Regions from separate parts of the Homo sapiens genome. Here all the other regions are linked to region 4. The links are contacts of gene promoters, found by promoter capture Hi-C in blood cells and fetal thymus (Javierre and others, 2016). All regions are on one chromosome and are shown on one strand. Each heading gives the region's core, a stretch centred on a gene start or on the middle of the fragment in contact. The rest is flanking DNA. Distances are from core to core; before and after follow the strand shown.

Evidence for each region. The method cuts DNA at HindIII sites, captures the fragments that hold promoters and counts their contacts. A CHiCAGO score of 5 or more calls a contact.
Region 1: a contact is called between a fragment that was not itself captured here and the fragment with the promoter of INTS12 in region 4, in 8 of 17 cell types (total CD8 T cells, total B cells, total CD4 T cells and 5 more). The highest score is 10.1, in total CD8 T cells.
Region 2: a fragment that was not itself captured here is called in contact with the fragment with the promoter of INTS12 in region 4 in 5 of 17 cell types (naive B cells, total B cells, total CD4 T cells and 2 more); the score reaches 6.9 in naive B cells.
Region 3: a fragment that was not itself captured here is called in contact with the fragment with the promoter of INTS12 in region 4 in 4 of 17 cell types (total CD8 T cells, total B cells, naive B cells and 1 more); the score reaches 6.6 in total CD8 T cells.

What each region holds. Positions count from the first base shown.
Region 1 is chr4:105,157,312-105,163,814 of GRCh38, reverse strand. All of the region lies in intron 1 of TET2 (tet methylcytosine dioxygenase 2), which reads right to left. All of the region lies in intron 1 of LOC124900868, which reads left to right. Among named protein-coding and RNA genes, the nearest start is that of TET2, 14 kb to the right of the region's middle. RefSeq lists an enhancer at 1,061-1,769. The HindIII fragment of the contact is 1,241 bases long and covers 2,337-3,577 here.
Region 2 is chr4:105,113,329-105,120,346 of GRCh38, reverse strand. No RefSeq gene overlaps it. Among named protein-coding and RNA genes, the nearest start is that of TET2, 30 kb to the left of the region's middle. The HindIII fragment of the contact is 1,114 bases long and covers 3,688-4,801 here.
Region 3 is chr4:105,182,729-105,190,263 of GRCh38, reverse strand. The region is part of intron 1 of TET2 (tet methylcytosine dioxygenase 2); the gene reads right to left. All of the region lies in intron 2 of TET2-AS1 (TET2 antisense RNA 1), which reads left to right. Among named protein-coding and RNA genes, the nearest start is that of TET2, 40 kb to the right of the region's middle. The HindIII fragment of the contact is 422 bases long and covers 3,046-3,467 here.
Region 4 is chr4:105,706,417-105,713,607 of GRCh38, reverse strand. INTS12 (integrator complex subunit 12) reads left to right here and starts at 4,919. Exons shown (of 8, transcript NM_020395.4): 1 at 4,919-4,970. GSTCD (glutathione S-transferase C-terminal domain containing) reads right to left here and starts at 4,824. Exons shown (of 12, transcript NM_001370181.1): 1 at 4,592-4,824. It overlaps LOC124900747 (a long non-coding RNA gene), which reads right to left. Exons shown (of 2, transcript XR_007058214.1): 1 at 7,185-7,191; 2 at 5,512-5,707. RefSeq lists an enhancer at 4,595-4,844. The HindIII fragment of the contact is 4,662 bases long and covers 3,813-7,191 here.

The DNA of each region.
Region 1 (6,503 bases), core at 1,708-4,207, 550 kb after region 4:
TCTCTCTCGAAACTTTCGAGCTCCAAACACCAGACTGCTTGTTGGCATCCAACTGTTTAAGAGTTGATTTACATTGATTACGAACAAAGAGACAATGGAGATTTGCAAATAGGGAGATGATGCCAAAGATAATTCAAAATTTATAGGGAAGTTATTTAACCCCATGTCTTGGTTTCTTCCTTAGTAAAGTGAGGAGAGTAATAGCACCAACAAAAATATAGATGACATAAGAATTAGATAATCTTTGGAAAGTGCTTAGCATGGTACTTAACCCAACATAAGAACTTAATCAATAGTAGCTATTATTAGAAATATACATAGCTTGTTACGCTATTTGAGGCAACTGACTTTACTTTCCCATGCCTCCATTTTCTCATCTGTAAATGCAAGGAATGGGGTTACTGAGTCTCTAAAGTCCTTTCAGCTTGTAGCAATCCATGATTCTATGTTTGAAAATAAACTATGTTTTTGATGAAGTGTTTATTGAAATACTGGAGTGAAAGTGGTGGCAATCCAGGTGGCAATGTCTTATAAGCAGTTAGAAACAGCTCTAGTTTACAAATCTAGATCTAAAATATAAAAATATATTCAAACACACACATACATACACAGAATTAAATCTATAATTCAGGGAAAAAGATGAAAAGCTCAAAAAAGGTAGATTAAAAAGTCTGATAATTTGTTACAAGTAGGAAAAAGTTTAAAATACATATTTAAAATGTTCATAATTTGTGACAGAAAATTTATTCTTCACTGAAAAATTTATAGTCTCCTGATTTTTACTTTTTTTTCTCATCCTTTTAGGCAATTATCCATGCTAAGCACAGCTGCTGGTGTTTAGTTCAATAAATACCACTAGTTTATCATTGCATATTTCCCAAAATTACTTCTCACCTTTTCTTTCTCTTTATCATTAATCTATCACACAAAAGGGGATTTTCTCCCCGTATTATTGCAGATATAGGCTCTTCAATAGAATCCTAATGTTAAGCAAAATAGTTCTATACAAACAGTGATTTTGGGAAGTATTTCTATATGTAATAGGAATGGCATGTTTTCAAAAATAAAATGTAAATAATAAACACTTAAAAAAAAGAAAATGCAGCTCTTGCTCCAACTGTTTCTATGAAGGCATGCAGCAACATTATTAGAGATGGTTAAGTTACTACACTAGCTTCTAAAAGAGTTTGAGTCAGCTTGGTTATGAAAGAGAGTAACACTCCTCAGGGCTTGTCACCTTCAGTTCTTGAATACTAAAGTGCCTACTTGCTTGTCAGGGTTAAAAGCTACTATTTTAAGTTCAAAGTGAAAAGCTCCTTTCAGGTGATAATGATAGTTTAAAATAAACAGTGTGGGGCAGGGAAAAGCCTCCTTTAGGCATCTACCATGTTTCCCCTGCAGTCAGGCCAGTGCTTTCTTATTCTGTATCAGTATTCATGATCCAGGTCATTAAACAGTTAGTAAGATAGACACCACTCTTTCTCCCTGTATCCCACTGATAAACAACTGCAGGCTTCAGAATTCTGGAGCTGTGTGTAAATATGAAAGCTCCATGTGTTTGACCATGTGGGAAGGCATTAGGGTAACCTGGGACTCCTATGCAAGAGAGAACTCCCTTGCACGAATGTTATCATCACCAAGCAAGCTGTTTGTTTTGTGTGTGTGTTTGGTGCCTCAGCTGTCTTCTACAGGAACCATATAAAAACAGTTTATACAAAAGACCCCAAGGATTCTGTGCACTTTCAACATATTAGGGAAAATGCAAGATATCAGTATTTTTTCATTTTATATTTATAGACAGAAACTTTTACTATAGTCTATTTAACCATTTCTACCAAAGAGGATTCAGCTTAAATATGAAAAGTTCAAAACACATACACACCACATACACACACTTAGTAGTAACTGAAAAAAGACGAACAGCCTAAAATTTCCACATTGCTCCTTGGTATGCATCAGATTCAATCTACCATTCTGATATTTTATAATACACAGACAACTGTCACTCAGTCTCATCTTTATGAAGACAGCCTATGCATTGAATAAGTCAATGTTTATTGCATGCTTGCCCCTTCAAGTGAAACTACAGTACAGCCAAATGAAAGTTCTATTTGAATCCCTTTTTTAGTAGAAATTAACTTATAGCCTTAATCAAATTCTGAGCACTTGCAGCTTATATCCATATATGATTTACTGTGAAACAAAGGTCCGAGAAAGAGGGAAAATATTAATATTCTAATATAAGATAGGATGATTTTTGTTAAAGCTCGAGAGTGTTCAGTAATGGCTCTGCTCTGTGCAGGAAAAGTATACTCATAAGTAATTTCACCCAAGCTTTTACTATTTAGGCCGAGGATAATTGAGAGAAATACATCATTTATAGTCCGACACTAAAAAAGCAAGTAGATAAATCACGCAAATAAGAACTTTTAAAAATCTACAACCTACTCTCATCGCATCTTAATTCAGTGTATCAGAAATGTACAATAAATTATAAGTAATAAACACTAAAGAAGTAATATCTTTTCATATCCAGAAGGCTGCTTTTGCTCTGCAACAGAATGAAAAAATATCTATCCTTAGATTTTATTGTTAGTTAAATAAGTCACTCTTTTGGTAATTTCCTCTAAATGAGAACAGCTTTAGATGTTAAATGGCTAAAACCTGAGTTTCTATATGTGAATAATAGATTCGGTCAGATAATATTTAAATTATTCCAGATATAAAGTTCTCTTATACCAAGTATTACTTAAAGAAAAACACCTGTAATCCCAGCACTTTGGGAGGCTGAGGCGAGTGGATCACCAGGTCAGGAGTTCAAAACCAGCCTGACCAAGATGGTAAAACCCCGCCTCTACTAAAAATACAAAAATTAGCCGGGCGTGGTGGCGAGTGCCTGTAATCCCAGCTACTCCGAAGCCTGAGGCAGAGAATTGCTGGAACCCAGGAGGCGGAGGTTGCGGTGAGCCCAGATCGCTCCGCTTCACTCCAGCCTGGGCGACAGAGGGAGACTCTGTCAAAAACAAACAAACAAACAAACCAACAAACCAAAAAACCCCCAAAAAACAGATTTGGTGCTTGGTTTAGCTCTTGGGAAAAGATCCTTTATTTTAAAAAATACATATTTCACTTATAGTATTACATTTCAGAGACTCTGATTTTTCCTATCTTTAGAAAGGTAGTGTAATTACAAAAACACAGTCTATGAAAGAAGCAGTCAAATGAGCTAACTTTTCAATTACTATAAATTTCATCTTTGATGATCTAATTACAATTCTTTGTTAGGCAAGAAGGCTTCTATTTTGGATGATAAATGATGACATCCATCTCAAATGATCCTTAGATGCAATACAAAAAGAACTCAAATTCTGTTCATATTTTAAATATTCAAACCAGTCTGCTTACAGCTAATACATAGCACCAGTATACATATACCAAATATACGTGGTTAGACATTTAAATTTTTGATGCCTTTTTTTTTATTTCAACTTGCTTTGTATTGATAAAAATAAATGAAAAGCTCTAAAAATCAATTTGGGATAGGAGGCACATTCCCTAAATATAGAGACTTAAAGCTTTGTTGTTGTTGTTTTAGCTCTAGGTCTTGGTATGAAATTAAAAATGAGAGAAGGTTGAGAGAATTTACAGAGGATGGGGAAAGGGGAGAGGCAGGTATAATGGTATACTAAGGAGCATGATTAACCAAGAGTTTTCTTGAGTGTTTTCTGGTCAGACCGTTTAGTTTGGGAAGTCAATCATGAATTCTCTTGCTTTTTAAGATGCATACAAATATCAAGATTTTTTTTTTTTCTGAGACGGAGTCTCGTTCTGTCGCCAGGCTGGAGTGCAGTGGCGCGATCTCGGCTCACTGCAACCTCCGCCTCCCGGGGTCAAGCGATTCTCCTGCCACAGTCTCCCAAGTAGCTGGGATTACAGGCGCCCGCCACCACGCCCAGCTAATTTTTGTATTTTTAGCAGAGACGGGTTTTCACCGTGTTGGCCAGGATGATCTCGATCTCTTGCCACCCGCCTTGGCCTCCCAAAATGCCGGGATTACAGGCGTGAGCCATCCTGGCCAAGATGTAATTTTTTAAAGGCATTTTGTGAGGCTGGGAGGCAGGTATGCAAATCTCACGTAAATTACAAGAGCACTGTGAATTATAATCAGATCCAAAGCATCATCTGCTCATGTTTCCCCAAATCACAAAAATGGTTTGGCATGACTAGTTGTTTGCTGCAGGGCATAAAAAGATTAATCTTAGCTGGGCGCGGTGGCTCAAGCCTGTAATCCCAGCACTTTGGGGGGCCGAAGCAAGCGGATCACCTTAAGTCGGGAGTTCAACACCAGGCTGACCAACATGGAGAAACCCCGTCTGTACTAAAAATACAAAATTAGCCGGGCGTGGTGGCGCATGCCTATAATCCCAGCTACTTGGGTGTCTGAGGCTGGAGAATCGCTTGAACCGGTGAGGCGGAGGTTGCAGTGAGCCGAGATCGCGGCGCCACTGCACTCCAACCTTGGCAGCAAGAGCGAAACTCCGTCTCAAAAAAAAAAAAAAAAAAGAAAGAAAGAAAGAAAAAGATTAATCTTGTATTTAGGCACAGCTTTTGAGGCTTTGGTAGGAAAACCATGCGTTAGGGAATATCCTGACCTAAACACCTTGATCTTTGGTTCATGACCCTATCAGAGCCAGACAAGGGCTCCCGGACAATGAATTAAACTGTGTTGATTCCTCCGCCCACAGACACTCAAAGCTTACTCTCTCCACTGTTACATAAGAGTCTCTGGAATCCTAGGATGGTGTTTGTAAATACTGCTGCCACGTGCACGGTACCCACGTGTCAAATGTTGATGTGACCGCGTGTAACTGGAAGGAGAGAAAGCGTCTACAATTTCCAAAGAGAAGCCTACTATTTTTTGGCCCTAAAAATGAGCATACAGATGTCAAGGAATTATCACTAACTAAGGGTGATTTATTTGTCTTTTCTTTCTTTTTTTTTTTCCAAAAAAGAGGAAGAACTGTAATATTTTTTTCCTGTTGCATTTCTTGTAATCTAAATTAACTGCTCTACCTAATTCAATTTAGGATCAGTTTTACAATTTCAGCAATGCATTCTGAATGCACTTTCTACTTCCTCTATTTGCAGGACTTATTCCTGCTTGCTTATTTACTTCAGTGTAAACTGAGATATTATGGGAGATGAATTACATAAAAACCAGAGATATACACTAAGTAGGCAAATGATTTACAAAGTTATAATTTACACCCAATTAAATTACAACATGACCCATTCAGTATTCAATGGCTTTCCTTGGGTGAAGGAAAAAAAAGTAGCATTTTACCTCTCTTCCTATCTCGGATTTCACCTTCATCTACATTCATTATATCTTTTACAATGGGTTTGTGAACAGAAAACAAGTAAACTCCATTCCTTAAACACCTGAATTCTTACCAATACTGAGAAAAATTACAATGTCAATAACTAAGTTTTTAACCCCTAAATATAGTTTCCCAAAAACCCCGAGGATTAAGGCATGACTAATTATAACAATGCAAAAAAAATTAAAGAAAATCTGTCAGTAGTAAATTAAACTCATTGTATTTTTAAAAATATTCTGACTTCAACAAAACCCAAGAAGTGTCTTTAAAGTCACTTTAAAATGCCATACCCTAGATTTCCCATGCTCTTGAAAAATGTTGGTAAAAATGTTTTAAAATTACAATATATGTTTAAAAAATTAGTTGATGTCCATAAAATCTTATTTGAAATAAGAACCACATTTTTTAACAGTAAATAAGTTGTTTCAAAGTAAGTAAGTTGTAACAGTAAATAAGTTGGCCAGGCCGATGGCTCATGCCTGTAATCCCAGCACTTTAGGAAGCAGAAGGGGGTGGATCACTAGAGGTCAGGAGTTCGAGACCAGCCTAGCCTACATGGCGAAACGCTGTTTCTACTAAAAATGCAAAAATTAGCCAGGCATGGTGGCTGGTGCCTATAATCCCAGCTACTCGGGAGGCTGAGACAGGAGAATCGCTTGAACCCAGAAGGAGGAGGCTGCAGTGAGCCAAGATCATGCCACTGCACTCCAGCCTGGGCAAGAGAGTGAGACTCTACCAAAAAATAAAAAATAAAAATAAATAAAAATTTTTAGTTCCCACAGTTAGTAACCAAACGTCTTTTTCAAGTTTGCTTTTCAGTAGAAATACATAATTAAATCTTAGCCATTAATAAGGTGAGCCAACAGCAAAATGTCTATTAGCTTTGCTTTCTGCCAGTGTTTTTCCACAAGCGTAATGTGGCAGACAACTGCAAAATTAAAATACAACCTTGTTTTAAATTCAACTTATGTAGATAATATAACTTCACTGGAGAAAAAACCATTTCAGTGGCTAGATTGGAAGAAAGATAAAATCTATAAAACAAGGTTTAAAGTGTGTTTTTTCCTGCTAAAATGTATCTGTTTGTACTAAAATAATTATTTACTAAAATAAATAATTTAT
Region 2 (7,018 bases), core at 2,995-5,494, 590 kb after region 4:
TTTGTATATTTCTTGTGTAGAGTCAGACAGTAATTTGACGAGAGTCGGTACCTGGTCAACTAAGATTCACCCATAAAAATGCTGATGAAATGGATTGGTACAAAAGGTTCTGCCCAAGAAAAGTGAGACAATGAGCAAAGCCAACCAGCCTATTCCCTTCCGGAATTTTAACTGGATATTGCTGAGAGAAATTCCTAGTAAGGGTGTAACAGCAGGATGAGAAAGCTAGTCAGGAAAAACAGCGACACTACAGGAGAGAGACCATGTGGGTAATAAAAGAGAAGGGAACTGGGTTCCAGGTGTTTTGATTCTTTATTGCCGCATAACAAATGAACCCAAAACTTAGTGCTTTAAACAATCATTTTATTTGCTTATAATTCTGTGAATCAGGAATTTAGGCAAAGTGTAGTTGGGTAGTCCTGCTTCTCTTGGCACTGGTTGGTGTCATTCGCTCAGTTGTGCTTATCTGGTGGTGGAGCTGAAATGGAAGTTCCGAGAAAGTTTTACTCACAGGTATGGCCCTTCTGTACTCCTTCACACACTCTCTCTCTCCATGAGGTTAGCTCAGGCTTCCTCCCTGCATGGTGGACTCAGGGTAGTTGTTATTTCTTGCATGGTTGCTCACTTCCAATAGAGAGCATTCCAAGAGGGAGAAAGCATATAGATCTCTGAAGGCCTACTCTTAGAAGTTCCATAATCACTTTTGCCACAATCTATTTGTCAAAGTCTGTGACAGGGCCAGTCTAGATTCAAGGGGAGTGGAAATAGATTTCACCTCCTGATGAGAGGTGTGGCAAGACTTTGATGACATCTTTTAAGTTACCACATCAGGATTATCTTGAAGCCATATGGCTTAGTAGTTCTTTGTCTTCATACTATGCAAATAGAAGGTCCCAGCAGATAGTATATTTTGGAAGAGAAGATAAGATTAGAGGATTTTTCAGTGCCCCTTAAGTCAAAATCTGCTGATGACTATGTTCATTAGCAATGGTTTTCTTAAATCATGTCATACAATATTCCTCTACTCTAGGGATATAAGTACTTAAACTGTCTTTAAAACTCTGCTAGCAATTATTTTTCTATGGAATCTCCATTAAAATACCTTATTAAGTTAGTAGAACAAATATATCAAACTAAAAAATACAAAAGAGATCTTTATGAAAGATTTCTTTAAAAATTTTTACAGAGCAGAGAAAAAAGAAGACATCTCTCCTGTTTCCCCAACGATAGTAAGAAGTATAACAGAAGGGAATATGTGTTGAAAAGGGGATATTAAAAGGGTTATTCATTTTATTTTGCCCAATTAATCAGGTGATATACGTATAATATATATGAGTAAATGTCTTTCTGATTTATCTGAAATGAAGAGAGCTTTCCAGAATAAATGCTGTTTTCACATTTAATGGGCTAAAAGTATATCCAGAATGCCTATAGCATATGTCTCAGGTGTGTGGCAGAGTAGTGTAGGGTGAGGGCTAGGTAAAAATTAGGACAAGAGGCACACACAGTGGCCAAACTGGTATGACGTAGGGTGAAAGGGATGCTTCTGTTAATTTGTGGGAAATAAGACCCAAAGCACTTGAAGACAAGAGGAAAGTCACATTAGAACTAGAAGTTTTCGAACTTGCCTTTTTTCTTTTACAAATAACTGCAAGAGAGGTTGAGGAACTCACTCAAAGTCACAATAATTACTTGGGTATGAACATTTGACAGTATGTATCTGCCACATCACATATGCAAGTAATATTTTGCACTTTCCAAACATCCTTTCTGGTTCCATTACCATATTTTAAGATCTACTTCCCTTGTGTTTCTCTATTTAAAGAGGGCTTTGATCTTAACTTTAGGACTATTTCGCCTGTTTTATTATTTATTTATTTATTTTTGAGACAGAGTTTTGCTCTTGTTGCCCAGGCTGGAGTGCAATGGAGCGATCTTGGCTCACTGCAACCTCTGCCTCCCAGGTTCAAGCAATTCTCCTGCCTCAGCCTCCCGAGTAGCTGGGAGTACAGGCACCCGCCACCACACCCGGCTAATTTTTTGTATTTAGTAGAGGCAGGGTTTCACCATGTTGGTCAGGCTGGTCTCGAACTCCTGATCTCAAGTGATCCACCCACCTCGGCTTCCCAAAGTGCTGGGATTACAGGCATGAGCCACTGTGCCCGGCCTTATTTCACCAGTTTTGAAAGAGATTTTATCAAACTTTAATGTGCAAATTCTGATTCAGCAGGTCTGATTAATTAGGCCTGAGATTTTGCAGATCTCACAAGCTCCCAGGTGATATTGGTGCTTGTCTGTGGACCACACTGTGGAATAGTAAGGAATTAGGTTATTGGGGTTTCAAAACTTGACCCTAAAATATTTGTGTAAATCATCAGGAAATTAATATTAGGTATAAATGCCAAATGAATTCTACTTTCTCAGGCTAGCCAAAGATTTATTCAAGGAATATTTATCAAGACCTTACAATATGCTAGTCATTGTTCTATTTAGAAAAGATGAACTTTTGTACTGTCATTTCTATTGTTATAATAAAATAAAGTGCCAATTAAAAAAAAATTTTAAAGACAGTCTTGCTCTGTCGCCTAGGCTGGAGTGTAGTGGCATGATCTCGGCTTAATGCAAACTCTGCCTCCCAGGTTCAAGCGATTCTCATGTCTCAGCCTCCTGAGTAGCTGGAATTACAGGTTCTCACTACCACACCTGGTTAATTTTTGGGTTATCTTCGTAGAGACGAGGTTTCACCATGTTGGCCAGGCTGGTCTCGAACTCCTGACTTCAAGTGATCCACCCGCCTCTGCCTCCCAACGTGCTGGAATTACAGGTGTGAGCCACCACACCTGGCCTAGTGCCAAATTTTTTCCTACTTAGACATCACTTTTTATATGCTCAAGCAGAGTTGCTTTCTGATGTACTGTGGATATAGGTTATATATACTGAAAGAAGTTTTACAGTAATAGCCTCCTTTATTCTATCAGCATACTGTTCAAATTCCTGGAACTTGGAAATACTTTTGGAGATTACTTTCAATTAAATGTTTCAATAAAATATTTGGCCAATTAAAAAGTGGAAAAACATATTTACTTTTAATCCCAGGGAAAAACCAGCATGTATTGGATGGTTCAAGTACCATCAAGTATTGAATGGTACTTGAACTTGTTAAATGTGCACAAAATGCTTTGTACAACCCTTGAGCTAGGATCACTGATTTGCTTCCACAGCTGCCCCATGTGGCTTTTTGTGACATAACCCAGGTCAGGCTGACCTGCCAAATAACTAACATTGATAAGTGCCGACCAGAAAATGTGAGCTGAATTATTCGGTACTGTCTTCCCTCATTGCAAGGGCATCAACCTCAGCATTTATTAATCTAATGTAATGCTCACTTTGTAATTAACCTGGGAGCTACATCAAACATCTAATTGTACCTCTGACAGCAAAAGGGTAAGTTCTGTTGAGCCTTGAACCTCTCTCAACATGTCTCTAGGAAGTGCAGTTTTGTAGCTATCAGTTGGTGGCTGCAAGAGAAAAAAAAATAGCAGTCATGCTATTGCAACAGTGATTACCCCAGCCTCTTCTTTCAGTTAATGAAGTGTTGAAAGTTCAAGACCCAAGTTATTGGTAGAACTAATGAGAACCAAAATACTATTAATACTTGCTGGAATGAATCTTTTAGGATTTAAAGCTTATTCAAAATCATGCTTTGATAGGACGATATTTTATATGCATTTCCTCGTTTGCTATATATTTGTGCATGCATATCTTTTTGTCATGTGAAGTATAAGCTACTTGAGAGCAAAGATGGTGCAACTTGTTTCTATACTGTGCCTGTATACAGCTTTGTGCATTACAAATGTTCAGGACTGCTTGGTAAATAAAAACAGAATGCAATCTGTGTACTTAACTTCTTTCTTAGCACCAAATTCTTTCTGCTTATTACTAAGAAGTTTTCCTGGTCCATTCTCACCTTCCTGGATTAGAAAATTAGAATAATTCCTGTAAGAAGTTTAGATTAATTCCCATGATTCCCCGACTGACTTCTCTAGAAAAACCAAGAAGTGTAGATTACCTAAAATGTCTGAAAATCTTCTGGGGCAGTCTAGATAGACCTTGAATAATAGGAATATAGCAAGAGGCATTATGGAGGTGAACTCTTTTCAGTAGTGGTTTCAAGAAAACCAAAATTTACTCTTCAGCTTCCCTTCAATCATATATGTTCTATGAAATTCAAAAAGTAATATATCTGGACATAAATTTACATAATTTTCCTGAAAAAATATCCCCACAACACTAATATTACATTGTTATATAATATGTGATGATAGAACTATGGCACTGAAGATGTCCTCAAAAAATATTAGCCATTGACTATTCTGGCTGCGTCTAAATTCTGGCCATGAGACTATTCTGGAAATGAGTCTAAATATAGACCCAAGCCCCACAATATTAAAAGATGTGCTTTAATTTGATCACCCTTAGAACTAACTGTTCATTGTATAAAAGCAGTGGGTTAAAGAGAACCAATAATCCCTGATGATCAGCTAACATCACTGCATGCCAGGTACTGTATTAAGAACTTCATATGCATCAACTCATTTAATCTTCATGATATCCCTATAAAGTAGGCATAAGTTTTCTACCCACTTTACAGATGAGAAAATGGAAGTGCAGAGAGATATTAAGAAATTTGTCCAAGGATACTCAACTAGAAGGCATGTAAGGGATTCAAACCCAGATTGACCTAGCTCTAGAGTCTTTGTTCTAACCTTTAGCACACTATGTGGCTCTTCTAAACCAAGCTTGCTTTAAATGACAGATGGAAATAGAAGTGTTGCCAGTTCCAAAACCACACTATATAGGTGCAAACCTAAAATACATGCTTCATCAAATTGGCATAAACAGCTTTTCTAATCATGTAGATATTATTTTCATTTCTTGAAAAGATGCTTTATTACAGCAGAATAGACTGAGGAGTTAGTTATACAGATTAAATATAATTTCATATGGATAGTCTGCAGAAGTGAAGAGGAAATTCATATTTTGTCGACACTCCAAAACTGTATTCAGTTTGGTAGACTTTGCTGCACTCCATGCCCTGTCATAAATAGAAAGCAATTAACTAAACTCTACTCTTGTAACAATAGCAATGGGGACTTTAAAAGGATAAACCGGCTGGGCGAGGTGGCTCATGCCTGTAATCCCAGCACTTTGTGAGACTGAGGCGGGCGAATCATGAGGTCAGGAGTTCGAGACCAGCCTGGCTAACATGGTGAAACCCCTTCTCTATTATAAATATAAAAAATTAGCTAGGCGTAGTGGTGGGTGTCTGTAATCCCAGCTACTTGGGAGATGGAGGCAGGAGAATTGCTTGAACCCAGGAGGTGGAGGTTGCAGAGAGCCAAGATCACGCCACTGCACTCCAGCCCAGGCGACAGAGTAAGACTGTCTCAAAAAAAAAAAAAAAAAAAAAGGATAAACCTCACTCCATCCTGTTCATAATCAAACAAATTACCTTCTCCTTATGCTTACATGACTTTACATAGATGAATCATCAAATGGATGCCATTTTTAATTATATATACTCCACTCATCGCTATGTTAGCATTTTTCTTCCTGTTCAGTCTTAAGGCTTGAAAGATATTATACGTGCTTATATTGATGTGCATTATATAAACATGTCATTATTGCTGAACATCTTTCTTCCTTTCTCTTTTTTAAACTATAAATATTCTGAAATGACCATCTATACACAGCTTGCCTGCCCTCCTTCTCTCCCTCCATCCCCCTTTCTTCATTCCTCTCACCTCCCTTTCCCTTTCTCTTACTCTTCTCTTTTGTTTTCTTTATTTTCTTAAGATAAAAAGTGATCAAAAGATAAGAATATTTTTGTGACTCTTGAAACCTGTTGCCAAATTATTTACCAGGAATATTGTACCAATTTATGCTGAAACCACCAATGTATAGGAGCATCATCCCTTTTCATATTTGCCAGAGTTGTTCATTGTAATTTTAAACTGAATGTAATGATAGAATGCTTCCTCATTAAGAAAAAATCCTCCTCTTTTAGGTAGGGTTCCTTTTAAAGGTTTTCAGTTTTTAGATTGTTAGAGAAGTAAATCTTTCAAATAATTAAAACACATTCAGTTACCTATACTTCTCTTTTTAGAGATAGACTACCAAAACCAGTCTATTCTCCACCATATATGCCTAACACACAAGACACATTGCTATATCTGTTAAATTACCCCTCCTTGCTTGTCCACTCAAGATATTACACAACTATCTTAGTGAGACAAAAAAAGTTCTCCTGCGTTAGCTTATTTTTTTATTTAATTAATTTTTTTTAACCACAGGCTTAATTTGCATTTAGAGGTTCCCATTTCTTCCTCTCAATGTTACCCAATAGATACCACAAAGTAACTGCTTCTGTCCAGACTGGCAGTAGAGAACTGTTGTGGTTCTAATGATAAGAAGAGCACTAACCTCTAAAGAATTCAGGGTTCTTATTTGCAGAACTAATCAATAATTAGTAATAATTTGGTTTTACACACTCTCTCTTTGATGAAGTTGTAGTGGAGAAGGATGATGGACAAGGGTTGAGCAAGGTAGCTTATGCTACATAATTTTTTTTGCTTTTTTTAAACAGCTTTGGAATTTATTTATTGCAAGATTTTATGTTATTTTTAATTTTGAGAAACTTTTTATTTTGAAAACTGCAATCCTACAGGCAGATTACAAGAATAGGACAATGAACATTGTAGATTCTCCCTCTACATTCATGAATTGTCAACATTTTGCCATATTTACTTTGTCTCCTTTTCCTTATACTACGTTTTTTCCCCCTGAAAAGGCTGAGAGTAAGTTGCAGACATCTTACCCCTAAATACCACAGCATATATCTCTATCTCCTATAATAAGACATATATATATAACCTACATACTATATATATGTATGTATACATATAACTACAATACCATTGCCACTCAGACTATTTATCATTAACATAATACTATTATT
Region 3 (7,535 bases), core at 2,007-4,506, 520 kb after region 4:
ATTGGATATTTCCATTACAGTGTGGCTGTTAAAAAACTTAGAGAATCTTTCTCAAAGCAATGACACTCTCAAATGTACCATAATAACAATTCTAATATCTGTAGAACACTTTGCCATGCCCAAAGCATCTTTAGTCTTCACATCTTCACCGCAATAATCAATGAGGCTTAAGAGCCAGTGGCTTATATTACTTCATCTGTTGAATCCAGTGGTTCACAGTGTGGCTTACAAGAGTATCACCTAGGTAAGAAGTTGAGGATTTTGCTCAGAGATTCTGACTTGTTGAGCTAAGAGGAAACTTTATTCTCCAGGTGACTGTAAGATGAAGTCAGGATTGAGAATCATTAAGTCCCTGTACTTCATGAGATGTGGCACTAACTAAACTCATAAATAGCAAGCATTCATTCAGTATATGCCATGTCAAGGTAACATGCTAAGTGCTATGGAAAAGGTAAAACATTATAACATGTGGTCTCTGTGCTCAAGGGTTTTAATTTAGCTGGAGAGACTGGACATATACTTTAAAAGGACCACCTAATAAGATACCTACTTTAAAAACATAACCCAAGTAAGACTTAATTGGTCAAAGATGTAGTAAAAATATTGGGTGCTACAAATAAGTGGAGATGACATGCACTGATAAAAGGGAGTAGGTTAAAAACATGAGAGAAGTCCACAGAGTTCCAAGGGCAGAGAGAAAAGAGGAATGGGGAGAAAGCGTTGTTTTGAGGCACAGATACAGCTGCAGCAAATTGGAGGAGATTAAAAAGCTCTCTCTGACTGAAGAGTGTCTACAAAGGAGCACAAGAAGACTTTGGAAAGACCGATTTGAAACAGAATCTAAAGAGTTTTGATAAAATGGCTAAAGGAGTTGGTCCATTGTCCTGAATATATGGAAACAGTATTGGAATATCCTGAAATAGTATCTGGAATAGTATCAGAAGCAGTTGAAGCTCAGGTTCCCGGGGTTCTTGGTAAATGCCAGACACTATGCTAGATGCACTACATATGTTACCTCATTTAACACTCAAAAAAATCTGGTAAGATCATTATTATTATCATTATCATCATTATTATTATTCCCATTTTACAGAGTAAGAAGGGAGGTCTCTTAATTTTTTCTCAAAGTCACATGCCTAGAAATAGTAAGCTGAGACTGGGACACGTTGCTTCTTTAGAAACATGGCATCATAAAAGCCATACGTTAAAATTTAAGGGGTGTTTTGAGATATAATTCACATACCATAAAATACATCCTTGTAAAGTATATGAGTCAGTGGGTTTTAGTATATTAAAAAAAATTATGCCACTCTCACCTATCATTACTATCAAATTCTACAATATTTTCATCACTCTGTCCCCCTCGCCCCAAAAAACCCAGTACCCATTAGGAGCCAGTTTTCATTCATTCCTCCCCCGGGCCTTGGTGACCACTAATCAACTTTCAGTCTTTATGGGTTTTCCTATTTTGAACGACTTTATATATATAAAACCATACAAAATTTGGCCTTTTACGTCTGGTTTCTTTCACTTAGTGTAATGTTTTTAAGGTGCATCTGTATTGCAGCATGTGTCTGTACTTTATTCCTTTGTATGACTAATATTCTACTGTTTTGATATGCCATGTTTCCTTTAGCTATCAATGATGAACTTTTGGGTTACTTCCACTTTTAGCCTCATAAATAATGCTTCTTTGGATATTCATTTCAAACTTTTTAATTGTGATAAAATGTATGTAACAAAGTTTGCCATTCAAACCATATTTAAGTATACTATTCTGTGGCATTAAGTACATTCACATTGCTGTGCAACCATCACTGCCACCCATCTCCAGAACTTTTTCATCTTCCTAAACAGAAATTCTATACTCATTAAACAATAACTTCCCATTTGCTCCTCCTCCCAGCCCCTGGCAATCATTATTCTACTGTATGCCTCTATTAATTTGACTATTCTAAGTACCTCATGTAAGTGGAATCATAATATTTTTCTTTGTGTGATTGGCTTATTCCACTTAGTAGAATGTATACAAGATCCATTTATTTTCTAGCATGTGTCAGAATTTTCTTCCTCTTTAAGGTTGAATAATAGTCCATTGTATGTCTATACCACATTCTGTTTATCCATTCATCCATCTGTAGGCATTTGGGTTGCTTCTACCTTTAGGCTATTGTGAATAATGCTGCAACAAACATGGATATACAATGTTTATAAGTTTTTGTATGGGCATATGTTTTCAATTCTCTTGAGAGTGGAATCCCTAAGAGCGAAACTACTGGGTCTTATGGTAGTTCCATGCTTAATCTTTTGATGAACTGCCAAACTGTTTTGCAAAGTGGCTGCACCTTTTTACATTCCACTAGCAATGTGTCAGGGTTCCAATTTTTCCATATCCGCACTAACACCTGTTATTGTATGTTTTAAAAATTATATCCATCCCAGTGAGTGTGAAGTGGTAGAAGATTTAGGTGTTATAAATAATCATATGCAAGATATTGGCTTATTGCAGTACTCAAGTATAAGCAATAGTTGGAATGAGAGGGTGGCAGAATAAATGAAATAAAATGATCAAACAGAAATATTACTGATAAAGAAATGAATGGCATTTAGTAACATTTTAAATGTAAGAAGAAAAAAGAAATTCAATTATAGTGATAAAGCTTTTGAGTTTGGTTGTCTGAAAGAATGATGCTACTAATGAGATAAATAGATAATTCTAGAAAGGAATCTGAAATGACAAATTCTTGACATGATGCATTTGAAAAAACTTATGTATTCCAAATAAATATTCATCAGGCAGGTGAAGTACAGGAGGTCAGGGTTGGAGTCAATAGGCTATTTCATTTTTCTTTTTAAAGAAATGATCAAAGAAACATTATTAAGATTAGAAGAGGGTTATTGCCTGTATATGATTAGACTCTTAAATCTGAGTTCAGCAACTGACAAACCAAATACTGAGGAAGGCAGAGGAGTTTTTACCTTCTGTTTTCTGTTTAAAATAGTAAAACAAAACTTAAAAAGTAAAAAATATAACTTTATTAAGCTTTATAGAACTTGTTTTTATCAGAATTTGAGTTGGTATCACATTTTTAACTATACCAAGGTGGTGCTTGTGGTTCTTGGAATGGTGTGAGCAGTTCTAGGGGGATTTCCCTCTCTGAGCTGGCACAAGATTGGGAGTCCTGGAGGACATGAGTGTCACTACCAGCAGTTATCTGGTTGACTGGGAATCAAGCTGGCAAACTATCAAGGAGAAACCATGAATTCTAGTTTTATATGCCCAAAACAGTCCCCTTTAGTAAAAAGAGGTGATCCCCAACAAATAGAATAGTCTCTTGCTAGAATATAGTTCCTCAGTAGCCAATAATTCTGGCTTTGTTCAGCTTTGCAAAGTCTCCAATATGATAATATTCTGATAAATACAGTGATGACTCACAGGCTTATATACATGTTTTGAAAGAGAAGCTTAATGATGCTATTTTGGATCATGAAGCCAGGCCGCGGTGGCTCATGCCTGCAATCCCAGCACTTTGGGAGGCCAAGGTGGGTGGATCACTTGAGGTCAGGAGTTTGAGACCTGCCTAGACAACATGATGAAACCCCGTCTCTACTAAAAATATAAAAATTATCCAGGCATGGTGGTGCAAGCCTGTAGTCCCAGCTACTGGGGAGGCTGAGGCGGGAGAATCGCCTCCAGGAGGCGGAGGTTGCAATAAGCTGAGATCGCACCACTGCACTCCAGCCTGGGTGACAGAGTGAGACTCCATCTCAAAAAAAAAAAAAAAAAAAAGAAAATGCAAAATACAGTCAGCTTATACACTGAGTTTTCCTTCTGCCATGATACATTGAGAGTTATAAAAAAATCACTTAGAAGATAAAACGGAACAAACATATGAAGGGTAGTGCTGAAGACAGAGGTTAAGATAAGGGCCATGAAGGGGGTTAAAGAAAAATCTAAGCCGATGAGCACATTTAAATGTTCTCATTCCCACACACATATCTACTGTTGTTTTTGTTTTTTTGTTTGTTTTCTTGAGACAGGGTCTTGCTCTGTCACCCAGGCTCAAGTGCAGTGGCACGATCTCGGCTCACTGCAGCACTGACCTCCCAGACTCAAGCTATCCTTCCATCTCAGTCTCCCAAGTGGCTAGGACTACAGGCATGTACCACCACACCCAGCACATTTTTTGTTTATTTTTTGTAGAGATGAGGTCTCACTATGTTGCCCAGGCAGGTCTCAAACTCCTAACCTCAAGTGATCCACCTGCGTCAACCTTCCAAAGTGCTGGGATTACAGGTGTGAGCCACCACGCCCAGCCATATCTACATTTTTAATTGAATAAAATACACTTCACCATCAAAGTTGCAATCATTTTGAGCATAATATCATTCCTAAACATATTTTCCTTTGTTCCCTAAATTGAAGCCTATTCTATTTTATCTTTATAAACTATTCACTGTTCTATTTTTATTTTTTATTTTTTAGAGACAGAGTCTTGCTCTGTAGCCCAGGCTGGAGTGCAGTGGTGCGATCTTGGCTCACTGCAAGCTCCGCCTCCCCGGTTCACGCCATTCTCCTGCCTCAGCCTCCTGAGTAGCTGGGATTACAGGCGCATGCCCCCACGCCTGGCTAATTTTTGTATTTTTAGTAGAGACGGGATTTCACCGTGTTAGCCAGGATGGTCTCGATCTCCTGACCTCGTGATCCGCATACCTCGGCCTCCGAAAGTGCTGGGATTACAGGCATGAGCCACTGCGCCTGGTCTCACTGTGTTTTAGAAAGGTATTATCTACTTTATCTGCAATATTTTCCAAATAGATTTAGAAAAAAAAGACAATAAAAATAGCTAAAATTTATTGAATGGATTCTAAGTCATCTAATTTTCAAAATACTATCAGTTGTTTACCTTAGCACACCCTTTGTGGGTGGCAGGGCCTCCAGAGCCTGTGCTCTTATTCAACATGCTTCATGGCCTCCACAAGCTTGTAGGAGATTCAGTGAAACATTTCATTTTGGGGAAAGGTAAATAATTCTACATTTCAAAGCCTAGAGACAGACAAGTTTTCGTTCAAAAATGAAGGAAAAAAAAAAACCTCTTCTCTAAAAACCAGTCACTCTACCTATAAACATGAATATATCATTACAAGCTAGGCACCTTATATAAGAATCCTCCATTTGGGGTTTAAATGCATTTTCCTTTCAAGAGATAGATCCACCATTGATCAAACATCATCAAACACTTCCGTTACAAAAAAGGGACTTTGTTTATCATGCTGAATTTAGTCCTTCCCTTCCCTTTGTGATATTAGTACACCTTCATGGCATGTTTCTTCAAAGCCCCAGTAATAGATGTTTCCTTCCTGTTGAAATGCTGCTTTGGCTGCTTCTGTGCTTGATGTGGTTCTCCTCCAGGTTTAAATGGGATGAGACTGGAGTTCACTAATCAGCACGTTACTCACCTCAGCAGGATATGCCCACAAAGTGTTTCTCCTATTCTTATACACATGAGTACACACATAAATACACACACACACACACACACCTCTCTGCAAGTAAATGATTCCAACTGTACAGTGCCTAAAGGGAAGTGCTATTTCAGAATGTCAGCTACTTGGCAGTGATGGCTATTCTCCTGTTAATGCTTTAAAAAACCACTACAGTAGTCAAAGTTTTAAGAAGAAAATTAAAGACCTTAAATGTATTCACTTCCTGCTCCTCCTAACATAGACAAAGTGGTGACTCCCAGTAAAGAACTCAGTGTTTGCAGAACAAATTCCATGAAGATAAAAACAAGCATACACCATATGAGGTTGTTTCTAATTAACAGTCTTTATATAACTACGATAGCCAAACAAGGCTGAAATATCAACCACCAGTTATAAACAATTTAACATAGTATTTCCATTATACAAAGTGATTATTTAAGAACCAAACACTGGAACATGAGAGGTACAGGTATAAATTCACAAGGCATTGTGTATAGATTATCAGATCAATTTATATAGTTTCCGAAAATAAAAAGAAGTTATGAGGGAATATTTTTTAAAATAATAGATATTTTTAAAAACCAAGATGGAAAACATTTCAGAAGAAAATACCCTATAAACATCACACAGAAAATGCAAAAAAAAATTCTGCATCTGAAACACAAACTTTTCACGACATTCTGACACTGGCTAATACTTGACCTCACTGGTCAGAGACTGGGCCAATGAAGGATGTGCTCAAAATCTTAACTTTGAAAAGCCTCTTAAGGGTATGGTTTATTTTTCATCCACTAAAATAGAAAATATAATTCTCTACAATAGACTTACCATTCCTAACATCCAGGCATTTTAGAGATCCCCGCTAGAAATTTCAAGTAGTATAGGAGAAGAAAGGAGTGAAAGGGGAAGAAAGGGGCAAAGAAAGGTAACTTGCATTGATTTTGATGCTTTAATAGTCATTTTCTTTTTCTTCACACAAGGAACTTCAGGTATTTGTGATTGTATTTGCGCGGCTGACTACAGGGCAATAATTCTATTGGGAGCTAGGTTTTTAGCTGAATCTCAGAATGTCTCTCCTGTAACTTCCATAAACCCACAGGCAAACTAAGGGGGTAGGCTGTAGAAGAGATAACAAAGTATAAATTAATCTTGGGTTCTAATTCTGACTCTAATCCTCCATAAATTCATGATCTTGAGCCGATCACTTAGGGAAACTGAGGACTAGAGAGCCTATAAGATGTTAAATTGTATTATTTCTGTTCCAACCCAGCTTTAAGGTTTTATGATTCCATGATTTAGATACTATCGAATTTGAGATAAAAAATATATATAGGAAAAAGAGTTATTGAAATGAATAGGTATAAAAACACAAGCAAAATTATATTAATGGAATTATTCTAAGTCTACTTGTGTGATATTAAGTTTATAAAAGGATATCCCTTACATTGTAATATATAACTATAATTGATAGCCACAATACTTATTATTGATTCCAAAGCAATTTTTACAATATATATTCTATTCCTTATATTTAGTAATTTAATATTACAAAATGATGTAATGGTTTCTGGGGAGTAATGAGTCTACTACCATGGTTCTCTTAGACTGAACTGCTAATTGCATCCATTTAAAACAGCCACAGATTGAGGATCAATAAACTGGTAGACTTTAAGTGCTTTTTAAAAACTGCTTCCAATCTATAGCATTAACCCAGATATTTTAAAAATGATTTTATTTTTCGTATTTTGGGGGGATAAGTATTAGGTATACATGAACCCTACCTTACAATTTCTTCAAAATGGATGGAAAGAATGAATTTTTAAATCACTTATGTCATAAATTATTTATAGCCCAAATATCTTCATCTAAGGATGCTTTAAGTCATATGACCTATATGAGCTAAGGTTTAAAGACATTACATTAATATCATGAATATAAACATCAAAGGATCAATTATAAAAATTCTAATGCTTAATGGGATGGCAAACTACAAAATAAAATTTTACACTATAGTATAAAGCTGCTGACATTTGATCAGTCACTATTTT
Region 4 (7,191 bases), core at 3,670-6,169:
GTATTTTATTTCCATTATAGAGATGAGAATTGTACATCAGTCCAAAAGTATTAATTAAATTCATAAAAGATCTTATTTAGAGACATTTAAGAATAGGTATTGTTCTAATATAACAGTACTATTTATAAATAAAATTTCATAAATTGAAGCAATTTTACCAAAGTGAAAATTGTCAGATATTATGTTATTCTAAGCAAGTATGCTGGTTTCAGTAATCCTTGATATAAACTTCCATTCCAAAGGCTGGGTTATTTGACAAGTTTCTGCACTGGATTAAATTCTTTGGCAATTCTTTCCTGATTCCTTTCATTGGCTACTCTGCAGATGTCTCAGTGACCCACAGCTCAGTGTTTTGCTCTCTGCTCAATCCACACTCCATCCTTCGAATACTGGCTTTCAAACTTTTGAGCATGCCACACAATTAGGTATATATTTTATAATGTAACACACAATACACTGAATAAAATAGAAACAAAAATGTCATGAAGCAATACTTATCCTACAATATGGGATAAATCTGATATTTTTTACTCTGTGCTTGTTTTTTTAAATGCTGGTTGTTACTCATTACATTGATTTCCTGACTCATTAATGGGGCACAACTCACAATATGACAGCACTGTTCTGGGTGATCTCCAGTGCCATAGCTTTAAATATGATCTGACTCTTACATGTATATCCCAGCCGTATCTTCTCCTCTAACTCCAGACTACTATATTCTACTTGACATCTCCATGTGGATGTTTTTCTAAACCTGCTCCCCTTCCCTTCGTGTTCTACTTCCTGGTAAAATGGCAACACCAATTACCCAGATGCTTAGGCCAAAAACTCAAAAGTCCCACTCAACTTCTTTTTTTCTCTCTCTCATACCCTGCCATCTCTACCTTTGAAGTATATGCTAAATCCAACTCCTCAGCACCTCTACCACTACCACCTTAATCTAAGTCATCGCCAGTGCTTACAAGGACTACTGCAAAAGCCTATTAACTATTTTCCTCCACTTTCCATAAAACAGTCCATTCTCCAACAACAGGGTGATCCTTAAAAACATAAATCAGATGTCTCGTGCTCAAAACCATCCAATGGCTCTTCAGCACACTCAAAATAAAATCCAAATTTCCTATTATGGCCTATAGGCCTACTGTGACCCTAGCTATCCCTTTCTGACCTCATCTCTTATCCTTCTTCACTCCCTTCCAGCCATAGCTGTCCTTGCTGTTTTTGGAAGGTGCCACTTGAGAATATTTGTACTTGCTATTGCTTTGCCTAGAATGCTTTTCTCCAAGAGATTCACAGGGCTTGCTCCCTCATTTCATTGATTTTTCTGCATAAATATTAACTCAGAACAGCCTCTCCTGACTGCCTGAATTGAAAAAGCACACCCTAGCCTCTTACCTAGCTTCCCTTTTTCTTCATAGCTCTTATCACCTAACACTATAACATCTCCAGTGCTTAATGAACTGAAACTTTAGTTCAAGGAATGAATGTACATATATGAATGTCAGAAATCACTGTCTGAGAGTATTATTAATAACTTTAGTCTTGGTACAATGTGTATCTCATTCTTCATGACACCATTCTTTCTTTTCCAAATTAATAACTCTATTTTAAGGACCAACTAAGTATAAATTAAAATGAAGAAATAAGATCACCTTTGTGAGGTGAATCGGGAAAAGTATAAATGGAATCTAACCAAACTCATAAATAAAGCAAGCACAGAAGTTTTTATGTATACTTATATCCAGGGCAAAGGAACTAAGAATCTTAACTAGATTCCATACATGTGCCTAGCAAGAATATTTATAAAACAAGAATTATAAAGTAATAGATTAGAGCCGAGACTGTTGAGCCAGACCACCTGGGTGCAAATATACTGGTTCTGATTCTTAGTAGCTATAAAAAACTTTTCTGCATATCTGTTTCCTCACTTATATAATAAAATGGAGACAATAATAACTGTACCTACCATGTAGTGTGCCATACAGAAAAAAGCTTGTCACATATTAAGTCCTTAAATAAATACTAGCTACTATTATTTCTTTATAATTTATAACCAAATTCCTTATCAACTGGCACTATTAAAATATGCAAACCTTGATGGGCAAAACCCAAATTATGGTTTATATTTTCAAGCTTCTTTCCATGAAAGGTAAAGGATTTATATTGATTGAAAAGTTTTTCCCAACCAAATACTGAAAAAAAACATATTTGTTACTGAGGCTGAAAGCCAGGGAATCATGAAATGGTAAAATATAAACGTGAAACCCTTAATCCATGTGCATATCAACCTATTGTACAAAATAAGAAGTTCAACACAGTTTATAAGTATGAAAAATCACAAACACTTACTTTTCTTAAAGATTAAAATTTAAACCTGCCTAAATTCTCTCCTACATCATATGTTCAACATTTTGAATTTTATAACTTATCTTGTGTTTTATGCTTTTCATAAAACAACAGTATTTGGCTGAAAATTGTACCCTATTTTATTACAATAATATAGATTTAACCAAAACAAAACAAAACAAAAAAACATGCCCCTCAACAGATAGATAGCAGCCAATTACCTTAAATATTTAGGGTCAAAAACGATAAGAAAAACACTGAGATTTTTTCAAGCTCATTAAATACGTAATATGGGATGCAGTTAAGTCCTAGAGAACAAAAGCCAGTGATTAAAATTAGCTGTTTTCTTATCTGGTAAAGAAGTAGGAAAAGTTTTTAAGTGAAAAGCTTACAGTAACCTTAGCCACAAACGAAGTGTGTAATCTCTCTGGAGAATCAGGGAATCATCTGTTGCCATGGAGTCATAATGCCTTCAGCTAAACCCGACCTCATAATTAACAGTGATCGACAGCGCAAATGGCTAACATGTTACCAAGTATGAAATAAAATTACTGAATTTTCACAGCAAACAATACCTGTGCTTGTTTTAATCTAAATGGTTTCAATATCTGCATTCCAAGTATTTATTCTTTGTTAGAAAAGCTAATTGGATACTCAGTATTTATTTTTATTTAAAAATCACAGATGATGAAACAAAAGCTACAAGTAAAACAAGTTTAAAAAAACAAAAACAGGCCGGGCGCGGTGGCTCACGCCTGTAATCCCACCACTTTGGGAAGCCGAGGCGGGCGGATCATTTGAGGTCAGGAGTTTGAGACCAGCCTGGCCAACATGGTGAAACCCCTCCTCGACTGAAAAAAAAAAAAAAAAAAAAGGAGCCGAGTGTGATTGTGGGCGCCTGTAATCCCAACTACTCGGGAGGCTGAGGCAGGAGAATTGCTTGAGCCCGGGAGGCGGATGTTGCCATTGCAATCCATCCCCAGGCGACAGAGCAGGACTCCAGCTCAAAAAAAAAAAAAAAAAAAAAAATTGATGGGCCCACTACTACAGAAGCTCAAGTTTGAGCTGTGTTTAAATTAAAGCAAAAACACGTAGAAGTGCAAAGTATATAAAATAAAAAGAAATGATGATTCTCAAATCTCATTGACCTTTTCAGTCTTATTTTTGAAGTGAGACCTCACAAAACGATACTTTCAGGTGTAATACAAACACAATTTTTAGTAATGAGTGTGCTTAAAGCAATCCTCTCAGTGGTGTATGCTCCCCATCAGGCAGTTAAAAAAAAAGAAAAAAAAACCCGCATAGCTTAATGTTTATTAAATATGACAGCGAATCACTTAGTTGTGTTATAACAGTTTATTATCATGGATTTAAATGACTATGTTTACATGTTTAAAATTATCACATCACTAGTTCTTGCTAGCTTTTGCATTTTCTCCTGTAAACATTGTTTTTACAGATAAGCTTAGGTAAAATAGAAATACACCACCTTCTTTATCAATAATGTAGCACACAATATATTACTAAAGCTGGCATTTTCTTGATATTCAAGAATTTATGACAAGGAATGGGATCCTGGCATTAAGAATAAAGGGGAAAAAAACAAGTCATCTCATCCCAAAACCAGGTAGAAAGTTGGGATGGGAAGTACGTGTATTAGCAAACGTTTTTGAAACCAAAGCAACTTTCATGCAAATTAAACTTTCTATAGAAGTTAAAAACCCAAGAGATACTGCTGTGATGACAAAACATAAGCAAATGGCCCCAAATGAAGCAAGTCCTTTGGAGTAAATGTTAAGTAGTATTCACATAGAACTGCTTTCTGCAATCAGGAAGGGCTGGAATGGAAAACTCAATGCCAAAGAGAGAAGAGAAGTTAGTGTGACCCAAGAGGTCTTGAAGTAACACTTAACAGCAAATATCAAACCACCCCAACCAACGCCTCCAACTGGAAGCTGCCCCATTTCTCCATCAGCAGAGGAAGACATGAGGGACTGGCTAGGGGGAAACTGGGAAACGCGTACTACCGAGAAGCCCAGAGCCCTCAACCCGCACCTTCAGCAGGAGTGGCCAAAAAGGAGTTTGAGGCGGCCCCAGGGCGGGAGAAAAATCAGGACGATGATACCACGCCCTTGTCCTTCCCACCCTTCCCCCGCATCCTCAGCCCTGCAGACCCCCGAAGAAAAGACCAGTTCTTAGGGGGTCGCGGAGGCTGAGAAGCCGGCGGCCCGAGCGCCCTCTTTACCTGGTCGCAGAGGCGCGGCCAGGCAGGGAGGGTGCGTGAGCGTGTCGGCGACCTGGGCCGCCTGCGCCTTCCCGCCCAGTCCGAGCTGGAATTCCAAGGCTGCCTCTGGGAGCTGCTGCCCGCAGACCACTCGCCTCCACAGACGCCAGGAGAAAAACGACAGCCACCTTATGTGGAAAATACTCGCGCCGGCCGTCATTCATAATCCGGCGGACCGGAAAAAGGGAAGTAACGTCACTTCCTACTGTCGCACTGCCAAACGTTTCCCCCGCCCCTACTGTGGGAACCTTTGTTTTCCTGCTTTCGGAGCCGGCCAGTGCGGGAACCGTTTCCGAAGGGACCACCGGGAACAGACGGATCGGCAGGGCGGGGCGGAACGGTGAGTTATGCTGAGCGACTCTGCTCCTGGCCTCCTGGAGGCTCGAGACCCCCGCGCCAGGAGCGAGGTGGGAGAGTAGCTACGTGGGGTATTAGTTTCCTCGCTCCTCAAGGGGAATCATAATTTACGGGCGGTTGCGTGCCCTAGACTGACTGCTCTCCCCTTTCAGTGAGGACTGTGCTTCCTCCGAGGGAGTTGCGGGCCGGGACATGCGGACCGAGCATATTTCTAGGTCTAGGGACAAGGGACTTGGAATCCTGCCTCGGACTTTGTCGGAGGGTTTTAGTGACTTCTCTACGTAGCTCCCTCATTGTCTCTCATCTTTTGGCTCCCCTGTCAAGGACCATCCCCCATTCTAGGACTTCGATGTGTGATGCTTTGATCAAAGGATTGACATTCCTTTTCTAAGTGTTTGCTGTCAGCTTTCAGCCACTTGATTGGTTTGGAATCGGAGCCTTTTCTCCTGCGATTCCAGGTGTCCCTAAGGTATCAGTGTTATCCAGAACCAAGAACTCAGTGGAGGAATGAAAAAGGCAGCATCTTTAAAATAATGTTTATTGGAAGGGGTTGCAAGAGCTTGCGAAGTCATGAAGAACAAAGTTTTTTAGAGCCATTATGAAATGGCAACGATAATACTGCACTCTATGTGAACAGTTTCTGTTTCCTTCATCTGGGGCACGTGCATATGATCAACTTTGGACTTCTTTTGAGATTGCCAGGTAGGGTGAAAAATGGATCTAGGAGAAAGCACATACTTATATTTATATATGAATGCCCAATTTAGACTGGAGAGATCACAGAAGCCTTATAAGGTGACATTTACGCAAAAAACCTAGTTCGTTCATTCGATAAATATTTTTGAGCCCTTATTAAGTTTCAAGCACTAGGGAAATAACAGTGAACAAAACAAGTTCCTGCTGTCATCAAGTTTACAGACCAGTGGGATTAATGAATTAAGCAAGACAGGCGAAAGATTGTGAGAATTTTACAGATAGGAACATTGTACTACAAGTCCCCAGTCGTGAAAGAGGTGATTGCTTTGCTTTTGCTTTTTTGATGTTTGGAGTTTTTTTTGTGGGGGCAGGGGTGAGTTACTTTTGTGATTTTTGCTGAAGGGACCTTGGAAATGGCTACAATTGTGTAGAAGGAGAGATAAGACCACTATACTTTGATCACTTAATTCCAGTAATTCTATAGCCATTATTTTGTTGTACTTTGCAAAGTGGCAAAGAGATAGGCAAAAAGATAAATATAGACTCTGCCCTTAAAGTACTCAGAGTTTTGTAGGGGACATAACACTTGTGCCAAAAAAAAAAAAAAATGCTTCAAGGGAGAAAGTTGCAATACCATGAAAAAGCACTATGAGATATCCTTGAATGGAGAGACTATTAATAGGGTTTGGAATGGAGAGGGGCACAGCAGCTGTCAGTCAAATCTTCATGAGAAGTATTTGAATAGGGTCTTGATAGGATGTAGATATATAAAAATAGGTAAAGAGCTTCCTGGACAAAAAAAATAAGAGTGGCAGGGTCAGCTAGCTATAAGGCAGATCTGGGGATGATGAATGATAATTTTTGTGCCAGTTACTGAATCTTCTTAAATGCTAGGCCAAGAAATTTGGTCTTTATTTCGAAGGTGGTAGAAAGCCCTAACTTCTCAGCAAGAATTTTTTTTTTTATTTTAATGAAAAAGAAGAAAACTGGGTTTCAGGAAAATTCATATGGCAACAATGTTGAAGTCAAGGAAAATAACGAGGTTATTGCCATAGTTCAAGTAAGCTAATAAAACCTGAATTTCAGTAGTAGCAGTGGAAGTGAAAAGTAGGACAAGTGTGAAAAATATTGCCGTCAGAATCCACAGGAATTCTGATTATTTGAATATAAGGAGTAGGGAAAGACTCAGTGAAGGAAAGACTTTGGTCTCAAACCTGACTAAAAGAAAGTTGTGTCATTTATTGAAAGTAAGAGCAGGACAAGGAACTTTTCGGGAAGATAATCAGAATCTCAATTTTAGTTGTAACTGAATTTGAGATGCCATTAAGGAATCACATAGACACATACACTAAGCATTTGGAAACATGGGATTCAAATTTAAGAGATTTGGCTCGCACTTGTAATCCCAGCACTTTGGGAAGCCACAACAGGAGGATTGTTTGAGACCAGATAAGAGCAACATAGCAAGACCCTGGCTCTACTTAAAAAACAACAAAATTACCTGGGCA